Linked DNA regions of Homo sapiens: regions 2 and 3 are each linked to region 1. Evidence: promoter capture Hi-C in human tissues and cell types (Jung and others, 2019). All regions are on one chromosome and are shown on one strand. Each heading gives the region's core, a stretch centred on a gene start or on the middle of the fragment in contact. The rest is flanking DNA. Distances are from core to core; before and after follow the strand shown.

Region 1 (4,328 bases), core at 682-3,181:
TGTGTGGAGGAGAAGTTTACTGTGGGGTTGGAATGTCTCCGGTCTGAGGGTGGGTTATGTTGGGGCTGACATCTCTCTGACCAGAGGGGAGGTTATCTTGGGGCTGCATGTCTCTGGTCGGGGGGTGGGTTTATCTTAGGGTTGGAATGTTTCTGATTGGAGATGTCACTTGTGGTTTATGGTCATTCTGACATTAGCCATTAGGCTGATGCCCTTTGGGTTGAATTTAGGCCGTTTTTGATCAAGGAGAACTTTAAAATGGCAGTGCTTGTCCAAGATGGCTATGCTCCGGCTCTGTCATTACCCACCTCGCAAAATGAAGGAACCAAGGCTTCGGAGGCTGCCCTGATGTGTGTCTGTGTCTTAGCTACGTGGAGCTGCCTCGGGAGGGTGACTCACCAAATGGGGTCCTTTAAGGGATTAACAGGGTCACTCATGGTGAACAGGTTGGCCTGGAGGGGAGCCGGCAAGAGGAAGGCAGAAGACCAGAAAGAGGCTTTTTGCTCACTCAGACCTGGATGTCTGAGACAGACTCACGTGATGTCACCAAAGAAGAAAAGCAGTTACGAGAAATGAAGGAGAAACAGACCTTTACCGTAGCGCCAGGAATGAATCCCAAGGAAAGAACATCTCAGACAACTTGCATTTACTCTGGATTCGGGGCTGAAACCATCAGCCATTCATAGAGTGTGTGTGTTTATTCCCCCACACAAGGCTGGCAGCCACTCTGAGATGCAGAGTGGCGGAGAGGTGGAATGTTCTAGGTGTCTGGAGGGAATGTGGAACTTTCGCACAGGCACCTTTGCTGAGGGGCTGCTCTTCCCTTCAGCATCAGCCATCAGAATCCCAGGGGCCCTGAGAAAGTGAGAACAAGGGGTACATTCGGCCAACCAGTGACAGTGATGATAAACCAAATCTGTCCAGATAAGCTTCCGCTCTCCCATCCACCCCACAATCACGTGTGCACCTACTATCTCCCAGGCACTCATACGTTTCTCTCCTTCCATCTCCACAACCACCCCACAAGGCGGGTTCTCCTAGGCCCATCCTGAGGCTGAGGGATGAGGTGACTTGTCCAGGCCAGGGATTTAGGTCTCTGACCCCCTAACCACGTGCAAGAGGCACCCCCAACCCAGTAAACGCGTACAGAGAGCCTCCCTGGGTGACGGGCAAACGAGGTTAGTGATGCATTCTCCTTTTGCAGAGAGTAAATGGACTAAGAGCAAAGTACGACTTCAAGTTTCCGAGTCTCACCGCTTAGCCCCATCAAAGTGTATTTGTTCTCCCTTTGTTCACAAACATCACTTTAATAAAACACCTTCATATTTTAGATTTTAACGCTCATTACATCTTTGAGCTTTTAAAATGAGATTTCCCTGCGGGATGCGGGGCAAGGACTGCACTTCTCCATGCACTTTAATAGCCGCGCTGTGCAGAACCCGGGAACCGGGGAAGCCGCGAGAACCGCGCGAAGTCAGAGCAAGTCAAAACGACCTCTACAGCGGCGGCCTGGCCCACTGCGCAGGCGCCGCTCCAGACCGCCTAGAGCCCAACCTGCCCCATTGTAGGCGAACCCACTTCTAGAAGGACAGCGGGAGTGGCGAATCCCTATTCCTCCCGAAGATGGGTCAAGCCAGACTCTGACCAATCAGAAAGCTTCTCTTGTCACCGCTTCTGACTGCTTGACGTGGAGGCTTCTTTATCTCGGGACTCTCAGGCGCAGCGGGGGCGGGATATAAAGCTGGTTGACGTCAATTACAACCACTCGTCAAGCAGACTGAACTTGAAGAACTGATAACTCTACGAATTGCATCTCAAGAAAAGGCTGTTATCCCAGCTCTCTACTCCCATTGGATTTTTGTGAGACCTTGAGGGTGGGAGCTTTTGGCGGCAACCAATCGAGGGTCAGCGAGGAGGAGGAGGAGGCGGGGCAGGTGGGCTATGGTTGCTTGGAGAGTGCATCCGGCCCGGTACTTGTGATCGGAGGAGAGCCGGATCGTCCTTCCTTGAACCCTCTGGGTAGGGCTGTGCTGAGGGGCTGGGCGGGGAGCACAGGCCGTGTCCGCTCGCTTGCACCTTTTCAGACTGCCGTGTCAGGCCTCGAGCCGGGCCCACCTGGAGCCCTCCCCTGCCCACCCGCCCCCAGCGCCCGATATCCGCCCCCGGCCCAGAAGGGCCGGGCTCGGTCATCCCCAGTCCCGTCGCGGCCACTGACCCTTGAGATCAGCCCTCCCCTCCCCACCTTCCCGTCCCAGGCCAGCCCAGGGCCCGAAGCCCACCCACTCGCGTCTCTAGCAGCCGCTCTTGTCCTCTGGGTACGGCTCGCGGGAGTGTTGGTTACCATGGTGAAGCTGGCAGCCAAATGCATCCTGGCAGGTGAGTCTGAAAACTTGCGCTTGAATACGGTGGTCTCTGGAGTCCAGAGCCTTCATAATTCATCCAGAGCTTTTGTTCACCTAAATTGCCTACCTTTTCCTTTCTCTCTCCCAAAGGCGAGTTACTGCAATTACTGATACAGTAAATTACGTTAGGCGTGGAAGAATGATCTTCCAGGGCACTTCGCAGCTCCAGTGGATTTCCCCCTGCTCCCTGTCACATACTCTGAGACCACCTTCACCAGTTGAGGTGACTCGTTAAAAAATCACTAGTTACAACTCTGGAGAAGCAGACTTGTTAAAACAAAACAAAACAAACAAAGCTTAAGCAAACCTTGAGTGCTTCAGCTAAACATATACTGTACCCCAAAGTTAGGCATCAGTGACTTTGGTAGTCTTTACTATGGGATTTTTCCCCCGACCTCACCCCCTCTGATAACGGTGACCTGAGTGTAGTGACCAGAGTTTGCAAAAGGCACTTGTGTGTTGTCTTTAAGACCCAAAGTTACTGTGCTGCCCCACTCCAAGAAGGGCATAAATGTTGAGTCTCCCAAAGGCAGGAATCTTTGTTTTGTTGACTGATACATCCCAAGCACCCAGAACAATGCCTGGAACATAGTAGGTACTCAATAAATACTTTTAGAATGGATGAATATGTGAATATGTGGCATGCACATTTGTAGTGTACCCCTTGTATCAGTCTGCACATTTAGAAAAACAATATTTTGGATTATAGACTGCGAAACACATATGCATGTTACTGAGTGCTTACTGCATGTGAAGCACACATATTTCATGTAATCGTCTCACCATAGCACACTGGGCTAGGTACTGGATTGTTTTTCTTTTTTTTTTTTTTTTTTGAGACGGAGTCTCACGCTGTTGCCCAGGCTGGAGGGCAGTGGCGCAATCTCGGCTCACTGCAACCTCCACCTCCCTGGTTCAAGCAATTCCCCTGCCTCAGCCTCCCAAGTAGCTGGGATTACAGGCGCAAGCCACCATGCCCGGCTAATTTTTTTTTGTATTTTTAATAGAGCTGGGGTTTCACCATGTTGGCCAGACTGGTCTCGAACTCCTGACTTCAGGTGATCCACCCACCTCGGCCTCCCAAAGTGCTGGGATTACAGGCATGAGCCACTGCGCCCGGCCAGGTACTGGATTGTTCTGATCTTACTGAGGCACTGAGAGATGTCAGCCAAGGTCAACCCCTAGTGAAGGCCCTATGCAGGATTTCAGCCCCTAGATCTGGCCAACTCCAAAACTCTTAACTCGTGTTTCTGTTGAAACCTGTGACCTTTCCAGGCTTCCCTGGCCAGCTCAGGAAAGAAGTGGTGAGAAATTATATAGAGAAAAAGAGATTCCTGTTTTAAAAAATTCCCCTCTTCCAGACTGAGAATAAATGATAATATTTTTAATGGCTTTTATAATTTGAAAATAAAAGGGTCACACAGAAAGATGACTGACAGTAGTAACTGAATCATACTGGAGCAAAATAAATTAATGGTTCTCAGGAGAATCTCCAGTTTCCAGAGCACCAGAGGAGGCAGTGTTGTGTAACAAAAGTAATTTTGCCTGTTCCTCTTATTGGCTGTGTCATCTTGGACGAAGCACTTTTTGAGCTTTAATTTCCTTATGGATAAGGTGGGAACATTATTTTCTGAAGTTACTTTTTTTTTTAAATGGGCTTCTCTCTGGGTTCTTTTTAAATTCGGTTTTCATCATGGAGCTAACTTACTGGCGCTTTGGGTGCATCAGCTCTGCTAGACCCTCAATACAGGTGGTCTCATTGAATCCTCATAGCAACCCTGTGGGATTGGCATTATTGCCATCCTCATTTACAGATGAGGCAACTGAGGCCCAGAAAAATGAGAACATTTGCCATGGGTCACAGAGCTGGAAGTGGCAGAGCTGTATGATCCAGACCCTGGGTCCCAATCTGATTTCCAGGGCTTT
Region 2 (4,328 bases), core at 1,161-3,660, 410 kb after region 1:
TCATGCTGCACTTTCCCACTGAGACGGTGGCCGTATAATTACATCTTCTGAGTATGGTTATTTTTCTGCATTGGGTTTCAGCAAACTGTGCTCACATGCTTGAGGAAAGAAAAACCATTCTATCAGCAGAAGCTAAGGGAAGGAATAACTTTGCTGCAGGAATCTGAAGGGTTCAAGTTCCCCCTCCTGGGGGTGTGGGAAGCCTCCAGCCAGCTGGGGAGATACCATCTGCAGGGGGACATGCTTGGTGCGCTTGGTGAACCCAACCAAACCCTTCCCCTGTCAGCCGCTTCCAACCTGGGGGTGAGTCAAAGGGGATCATCTGCCCCTCACTATTTAGGAGGGGACGTCCCCACCATACCTGAAACAATTTGCTTTTCTTTGCAGTTTCTTCTGGGTGACTGAGAGAAAGCTTGTTATTGAGTAGGTAAGGCGCAGGTGTGATGTCACTGTGCAAATATTGAACCAATTAAAAGCAAAGCCAAGGGTCCAGTGTAGATGACTTATCTGCAGATCCAGCCCTAGGTCTGTCTGCCTGGCCTCTTAACATGGGGCAAAAGCTGCTTAACCTATTGTTTCCTCCTCTCCTTCCTTCCTTCCCTCCTTCCTGCCTCCCTCTGTCTCTCCCTCCAGCTACCCTTGGAGTGGTCATTCTCTTGGACTGCCAGGTTCCCAGAAAATACTTGCAAGCATTTTCAACAATTCAGTTATTTTCAACAAGCATTGATGCTCTCTCTGCAGCACCCTGGGCAAGAGCAAGAGGGTTGGGGAGACAGTTCCTGCCTCTAGAGAGTTCTAAGAGACAGCAGAGGACACAGGCAATGAAGCCATGGTTCTGTATAAGGCAGATTGCGCTGGGCCTGTTGGGGAGGAGGGAGAAGGGTGAGTAATTCATACTAGGGTAATTCATACTATGAGTAATTCATACTAGGAGAGGCTGCCTGGGGGCGATGGCATGTCCACTTGGTTTTGGGGACTCTCAGTCTGTGGAGAATTGGGGAGATGGGCCCTCCAGCTTGTCTCTGGGTGACAGCTGAAGCAAAGGCTGCTCTGGGGAGTGTGCTCTAGTGACTGGAATGGAGGGTTGTAGCAGGGGATAAGAGAGGTGTGGCTGGAAAGATGGTTGAGAGGCACTGGTGGAAGGCATTGGGGTGGGGTTATAAAGGCTGTAGGGGGCACACTTCTATCCATGCTGGGCGGGCTATCATTCTGGGGTGATGGCAGGGCTGGCCTCAAACTTTTGCTGCTTTCTGCCCTGGCTCATTGGTTGTTTGATTTATTCATTAAGAAATGGTTTCAGGCCGGGTGTAGTGGCTCATGCCTGTAATCCCAGCGCTTTGGAAGGCTGAGGCAGGTGGATCACTTGAGGTCAGGAGTTCAAGACGATCCTGGCCAACATGGTGAAACCCCATCTCTACTAAAATACAAAAATTAGCCGAGCGTGCTGGCATGCACCTGTAGTCCCAGCTGAGGCGGGATAATCACTTGAATCCAGGAGGCAGAGGTTGCAGTGAGCCAAGATTGTGCCACTGCACTCCAGCCCGGGCAACAGAGCGACTCAGAAATGGTTTCTGTGCTGAGGATCTAAAGCCATGTCTCTGTGGTCCTGAAGTTGGTATCTTAGTGGAGGACACCCCATTGGACACTTTATTGTGTAGTCTGTGTGACACATGCCACATGAGATCTGTGCCTAAGATGCTCTGGAAACACTGGCCCTGGAGCTCCTGGGATTGCTTGGTCACTTCTCACTGTCGTAGGACGGTGATTCCAGGACTCTCCTCGAGCCAGGCTCTATGGAGTAGGAGATCAGAGGGTAAAGTCTATGGCTGCACTTGTCCCTCTCGTGTCATTTAATCACTCTCCACCTAGCCTGGTCAGGGAACTGTCTTTTCTTCTCTTAGATTGGAAGCTCCCTCCTTGCAAGTCCCCAGTATTTTCCAACCACTGACTTCTCATTGCCCCCTCCATGCAGGTAAGGGAGGATGATTTCTGTTTTTTTTATTTTTGAGGCAGAGTCTCGCTCTGTCCCCCAGGCTGGAGTACAGTGGCGCAATTTCGGCTCACTGCAACCTCTGCCTCCTGGGTTCAAGCAATTCTTGGCCTCAGCCTCCCGGGTAGCTGGGATTACAGGCGCACACCATCACGCCTGGCTAATTTTTGTATTTTTAGTAGAGATGGGGTTTCACCATGTTGGCCAGGCTGGTCTTGAACTCCTGACCTCGTGATCTACCTGCCTTGTCCTCCCAAAGTGTTGGGATTACAGGCGTGAGCCACCGTACACCCCCAGCCAATTACTTTAAAATACAAATCTGATGTCACCTCTGCTCCTCCCCAATTATCCCTAGAATAAAGTCCACATTCCTAAATGGCTGATAAGATCCTGGGTTAGCTGCCCCAGTTTATCTCCTCCAGCCTGTCCCAAGCTATTGCCCCCACCCCTTCCCATGCAGGAGGAGGGACTCTATGTACCACATTCTGGTTTCTGGTGTCATTTTTTTTTTAAAAGAAATTGTTCATTTAATTTTTAAGTTGACAAAAATTGTTTATATCCATTGTGTACAACATGATTTGAAATACGTACTGGTGTTGTTTTTGATAGCCTGAGTTTCCTTCGGTGCCAGGCAAAGTGAAAGTGACCACAGGCCCTCCCTTGGACAGGCAAATGCCATCATCTTTCATTGTTTCCTGGACTTTCAGCAGTCACCTGAGCCCCCCTCCATGCCCGCTTCAAGGAGGCAAAGGCAGAACCTGCAGATGGGGCAGGCTCTGGGGCCCGGGCACTAAGTTCCTCTCTGGTTTTCTTATCTGCTAAGCATCAACACAGGCTTGGGTTGGAATACTGCTAATGGAAACAAGTTCCAGCTTCTTCTGTAAGCAAACAACATTCCTGAGGTGGAAAGGGAAGGGGGGCCCACCCGCAGTCTTCAGCTCCTACCTCCTGGGCACTGGCAGCTGGGAGGAGCCCCCCACTCCTTGTTAGCCTGGGGAGAGTGAGGGCCTAGGTCGAGGCTGCTGTAGGTTATTAGCCCTGGGTGACAGAGGAGCCACTTTATTGACCCACCCTGTAGATAACTGCTCTGACAGCCCTGGTGTGTATTGCAGAGAGTGGCCTTGTGCATACCTGTGAGCAGATAGGACATTTTGCAGGTGGGAAAGCCGAGGCCTGGGTGGTGCCTGCAGGATTGCACAGCTGGTCAGCACCTCGCTGGACTCAAATCCAGCTCTTCTGCCACAGGCTTTGTGCCCATCTCACCAGACCAGCATTTCCCAGACCAGCATGGAGAGAGGTTTTTCCTGCAGGATATTCCTGGGATGGAGTTAAGCAGATTTCTTTTTTCTTTTTCTTTCTTTTTTTTTTTTTTGAGATGGAGTCTCACACTGTTGCCCAGGCTAGAGTGCAGTGGTGCGATCTCGGCTCACTGCAAGCTCCCCCTCCCAGGTTCACGCCATTCTCCTGCCTCAGCCTCCAGAGTAGCTGGGACTACAGGTGCCCGCCACCATGCCCGGCTAATTTTTTGTATTTTTAGTAGAGACGGGGTTTCACCGTGTTAGCCAGGATGGTCTCGATCTCCTGACCTCGTGATCCGCCCGCCTCGGCCTCTCAAAGTGCTGGGATTACAGGTGTGAGCCACTGTGCCCGGCCTAAGTTAAGCAGATTTCTTTTTGCAGGCTGCTTCCTACAACATTTTGTGCATATTGTGATTGCAAGAGGGCCATAGGGAGACGGCATTCCATCCTTACTCGGCCACGAAACCCTCTTCCCTCTGCAAATTGCTGTCTTTATAGTCACTGTCCCTGAGAACTGTCCTCTATGGATGGATATAACCTGCAGAAAGAGTCACTAGACTCCTGGTAACTGATTTTCAGAGGGCCCAGGTGTCATTCCTAGGAAGAATGGGGATTAAATAGCTCAGAATCACAAGATAGAGGAGTTGGGAGGGAAATTCCTATCATGCCATTCTCCACTGGGAGCTTGAGCTACAACTCTTCTGATGTTAGGTGGTGGTGGTGGTGGTGGTGGTGGTGGTGGTGGTGGTGGTGGTGTTTGTCCTCATTCTAAAGCTAGGAAATTGGGGTGCTAACAGCTTCAAGGTCACAGGAATTGTGAGCAGGGGACCTGGGACTCCAATCCAGGTCTGTCTGGCCCCAAAGCCATAAACTCCATTGTGGTACATTACAAGCATTTATCTTAGGGTTTGCAGAACCAGGACCTCACATGGCTGTGGTTTTTCCACTTCTGTCTGTCACTTCTGAGTTGATACCAAAGGTTGATGTTGCCAGCACCTACTTGATAGATGGAGGCGTAGCATTCCAGGAGGGCACACGAC
Region 3 (4,328 bases), core at 1-2,500, 380 kb before region 1:
TATTTTTTTTAGACGGAGTCTTGCTCAGTCACCCAGGCTCGAGTGCGGTTGCGCAATCTTGGCTCACTGCAACCTCTGCCTCCCGGGTTCAAGTGATTCTTCTGCCTCAGCCTCCTGAATAGCTGGGACTACGGGGTGCCCACCACCACGCCCGGCTAATTTTTTTTTAATTTTTATTTTTGGTAGAGACGTGGTTTTGCCATGTTGGCCAGGCTGGTCTCGATCTCCTGACCTCGTGATCCGCCCGCCTCAGCCTGCCAAAGTGCTGGGATTACAGACATAAGCCACCGCGCCCAGCCCTCCCCTTCCTATCTTGGCATAGCTACGTGGCATTCCACTGGATGGAAGTTCCCTAATTTGCTCATCACCTGTCCCCTATGGATGCGCATTTTGTTGGCCTCGGGTCCCGTGACTGCAGGAGTTACTTTGTACACACGTGTTCAACATGGGTCACTCTGTTGATGAGTTTTAGGTGTGGAATTGCTGGGTCATGTGTCAGAGATGTTGGTAGATGTCAGATTGCCTTCCAGGGAGATGCTTGAAGCCCACGCCAGCAGGGTGACTCGCCTTTTCAACCTGCCTTTGATGGCAAAGCTTTTGAAACTTCAAATATGCTATCCTGGTGTTTTTAATGTGTATTCTCAGGACTCTTCAGGGTATTAGGGACTTAGCACTTTTGATTCTTTCTCTTTTCCTTTTTTCCTTCCTTCCCCTCATATTGACACTGTCCGTATGTCAGGTAATTTTCTGGGTTCTGGAGTGGTGTGGATGAATCCCACACTGTTCCTGTTGTCCAAGAGCTCCTGGTGTAGACTCATAAGCAAGGCTCTGACATGAGATATGGTAACTGGCTTGTGCCCAGAATCTGCCTTGGCCAGAATTGGAGATCAGGGAAGGACTGGTTTTAAATCGGGGAGCTGATTAGTCTGAGTAAGTAGGGTGGGAATATGGTGACCAACTTTGTCCTAGGAATATCACTGTAAATCTTATGTTCTGGAAACCCCCCTCAGTCCCAGGCACAGTGGGACAGCTGGTCACCTTGGCGCGATCCTGGTAAGGAATGGCATGGTTTGCACAAGATAGGAGCTGCTCAGGGCGCTGGTGCTGGTGTGGCTATGAAGCAGGCAGCTCCCGGATGAACAGGGAAGAACGTGGGGCTTCAGGTCTGGAGCCTGGGGGGCTGGCGTGGAGGTGGCTGCTGTGGCAAAGCAGAAGTAAGGGTGATGGCTTGGAAGGAGGGGGTGAGGGAGGGAAGGAGTCAGGGAGAATGGCCACAGTCTGTCTTGGGGACTGGTGGGTGGGGCGCCTCCAGTGAAGAGCAGGTGTCAGCAGAGGGGCATGCTCGGAGGACAGCCCTCAGGAAGTCGGCCGCTAGCCTGCTCTTTCTCCTTGTTCTGCTCTGGCCCCTCTGTGGGCCCCTGCAGCTTTGTGATCCTCATTTGTCATGAGGGGTACCCCACAGTCTGATGGGGACTGGGCGGAGGGTCAGACACCAAATTATGTATACCATAGTCCTCCTGACCAGGGACCAGGACTCAAAACCAGGTCACTGGTGAGGCCTGGCACTGTGGGGGCAGGACTTTTTTTCCAGCTGGGGACTCGGCTACCTGCTGACTTTCCAGAAGACAGGTCACAGCACCGAGCAGGGGTGGGCGGAACACAAGGACTTGAGGGTGGGTGACAGTGTCAGCTGGCTGAGCCAGGGAGGGCAGGAAGGGAGGTGGCCCTGGAGATACTGGAGGTCTTCACAATGGCAGAGGACAGGCGGTGGCAGAGACAGTGAATGGCACCCCCAAACCTGCTCTCCCCTGCCCGTGTGCCCTCTACTTATAGCTGGCTACATCTCCCAGCCTCCTCTGCAGCTTGGTTGGCTATGTGACTCAGGCGTAGCCAATGGGATGTACATTAGAAGTGGCTACGGCAGCTTTGGGGAAGGGTCCTTAACAGGCAGAGGCAAGCCCTCCCTCTCTCCTTCCTTTCCCTTCCATCTGCAGGAACGCAGAGGTGATGGGTGGAGCTTGAATAGCTCTCTTGGTCTATGAGGAGATGGGAGAAGGATATTGAAGAGACCCTAGTAGCAAGCCAGATTTAGCTCAGGATCCTGACATCATAAAGCCACCCCACCTAGCCTGGGTGGCCTCCCTTTGGACTTCTTTTATGTAAGAGAGAAATAAAGCCCTCTCTTATTTTAGGTCACTGTTTTCTTCTTCTGTTCTCTTTGGACACACGCAGCTGAACTTCATCCTAACTGGGACACTGTTGTACAGTGGAGGCGGTGATGGCAGCACGCGGGTGAGCTGAGGTGGAAGTTCAAGGGGTCTTGGTTAACACAGGTCAGAATGATGGCAGGGTGCAAGTGCAGGCCTGGGTGTGGGACTGGTATGGAGCAGTTCAGAGGGAACAGGAGGCTGGAGGCTACAGTGTGGACCCTGACATCTCCTGGGAGGCGGAGTGGAGAGGGAGGCTGAGCGCAAGGGCCAAGCACTCCAGTGAGCAGAGGGAGGACGGGTAGGGCGTTTGGCAGATACCAGGACTGAGGAGGATGCAGTCTGGCTTGGCCCCAAAAAAGACAGCCCAAGGACATCAGGGCTGGAAGACCCCAATATGCCCTTGTCCCATGGCCCCTGTGAAAGAGGGGTCTGGGTCCAGTGGTGGGAGGGCTGTGGGACTGGGTGCATGGAAACAGAGGGTATGAGGCGGTTTGTTCCCAGTGGGACCCATGAAGATGCAGCGCAGAGGGTCAGGTGGGGATGTGGAAGACGTAAGAGAAGTAGTTATAGGAGCAAGGCGTGGAGCTCGTGGAGGAGGCTGGGTCCAAACCCCAGCACTCCTGAGACCCAGGTCTGGGTAGGCCCGAGTGGGCTCTGTCAGGGCTCTGCCATCAGAGAAGCTTCTGGATTACATCTCAGGTTGCCTCAGAGAGAATCGGATGTCCTCTGGGACAGACCTAGGTTCTAATCCTGGCTCTGCCACATTCTGGTAGGATGACTCATGAGGCCTGGTTTCCTGGCCTGTAAAATGGCAAGGGAAGAGCAGGCTCAGCATGCACAAAGCCCTGACAGAGTGAGAAAGCACAGGAGGCAGGGTCAGAGATGAAGATGGGGCAGTCCCTGTAGGACATGTGGGTCAAGACTGAGAGTTTGGATTTTACTGTGAATGCACTGGGAAGGTTTGAGTGTGTATGATGGGGAGTGGCTGGGGGGTGAAATGACGTGATTTGAGTTTGGGAAAGGTTGCTCTGGCCGCTGAGTGGAGAACAGACCAGAGAGTCAGGAGTATTAATAGAAACAGGGAGACCAGGGCGGAGGCCACCATGGGCCTGCTGAGGTGGGAGATGACACGGCTCTGAGCAGGGCAGGGGCTGAAGAAAGCAGGTGCACCTCTCTGCACACCCCTGCTGGCCACCCATGCCTCTGGGCTTCTGCTGGCGTACTGTCTCACCCCTCCTCACCTGGTTTTATGTTCAGCTGTAGCACCTGGGGGACAGACTGTATGAGTCAGAGAAAACAGAAACAGCAGTCCCCAGGTCTCAGAGGCCCAACAATAGAGGTTTATTTTTCATTCAAGTTATAGCCCAGTGTGAATTGTCTGAGGAGGGGTGAGGGCCTGTCCTTCAAGGGACTCCAGCCCCTCTACCCAAAACTTCACTGGATTCTGGCAGGGGAGGGGAGAGAGAGAAAGAGATAGAGGGATGGCCGGCCGTGGTGGCTAACGTCTGTAATCCCAGCACTTAGGGAGGCCAAGGCAGGCAGATCACGAGGTCAGGAGATCGAGACCGTCCTGGCCAACATGGTGAAACCCCATCTCTACTGAAAATACAAAAATTAGCTGGGTGTGGTGGTGTGTGCCTGTAATCCCAGCTACTCGGGAAGCTGAGGCAGGAGAATTGTTTGAACCGGGGAGGCGGAGCTTGCAATGAGCCGAGATCGCGCCACTGCACTCCAGCCTGGCTACAGAGCAAGATTCCGTCTAAAAAACAAAAAAAAAAAAAGAAAAAAAAAGAGAGATAGAGGGATTAAGAGACACAGGAGATCATAGGTGAGATTTTTTTTAGGCCTAGAAGTAGAATAAATCACTTCCTCCCACATCCCATTAGCCAGACTTGGTTCTGGAGCCCCAGCTCACTGCAAGGGAGGCTGGGAAGCAGACCCGAGCTGATGCCGGGAGGAGGGTGCACGCCATGGCCTGGGGACCCATTCCACCAGGTTTCCCTCCTACGTGCTCCCACAGGCCATGAGGTGTTACATAGAGGATGTGAAGGAGAATCATTCTCTGCGTAGCCCCCTCCCTGCCTCTCCATCTGAGGTGTTCTGGGCTAGGACCCTTGA

Evidence for each region. Contacts are between HindIII fragments. The study calls those that stand out against the background at their distance.
Region 2: a contact is called between a fragment that was not itself captured here and the fragment with the promoter of IFT27 in region 1, in 1 of the 25 tissues and cell types used here (small bowel).
Region 3: a contact is called between a fragment that was not itself captured here and the fragment with the promoter of IFT27 in region 1, in 2 of the 25 tissues and cell types used here (mesenchymal stem cells and spleen).

The regions. Positions count from the first base shown.
Region 1 is chr22:36,773,722-36,778,049 of GRCh38, reverse strand. It overlaps IFT27 (intraflagellar transport 27), which reads left to right and starts at 1,931. Exons shown (of 7, transcript NM_001177701.3): 1 at 1,931-2,376. The coding sequence starts at 2,343. RefSeq lists enhancers at 539-1,102, 1,630-1,889, 1,668-2,231 and silencers at 2,130-2,179, 2,310-2,369. The HindIII fragment of the contact is 3,270 bases long and covers 1,294-4,328 here.
Region 2 is chr22:36,359,747-36,364,074 of GRCh38, reverse strand. All of the region lies in intron 1 of MYH9 (myosin heavy chain 9), which reads left to right. Among named protein-coding and RNA genes, the nearest start is that of MYH9, 26 kb to the left of the region's middle. RefSeq lists an enhancer at 436-1,376. The HindIII fragment of the contact is 7,297 bases long and covers 1-4,328 here.
Region 3 is chr22:37,154,239-37,158,566 of GRCh38, reverse strand. It overlaps a transcript of IL2RB not described here. Among named protein-coding and RNA genes, the nearest start is that of IL2RB, 6.5 kb to the right of the region's middle. The HindIII fragment of the contact is 5,288 bases long and covers 1-3,894 here.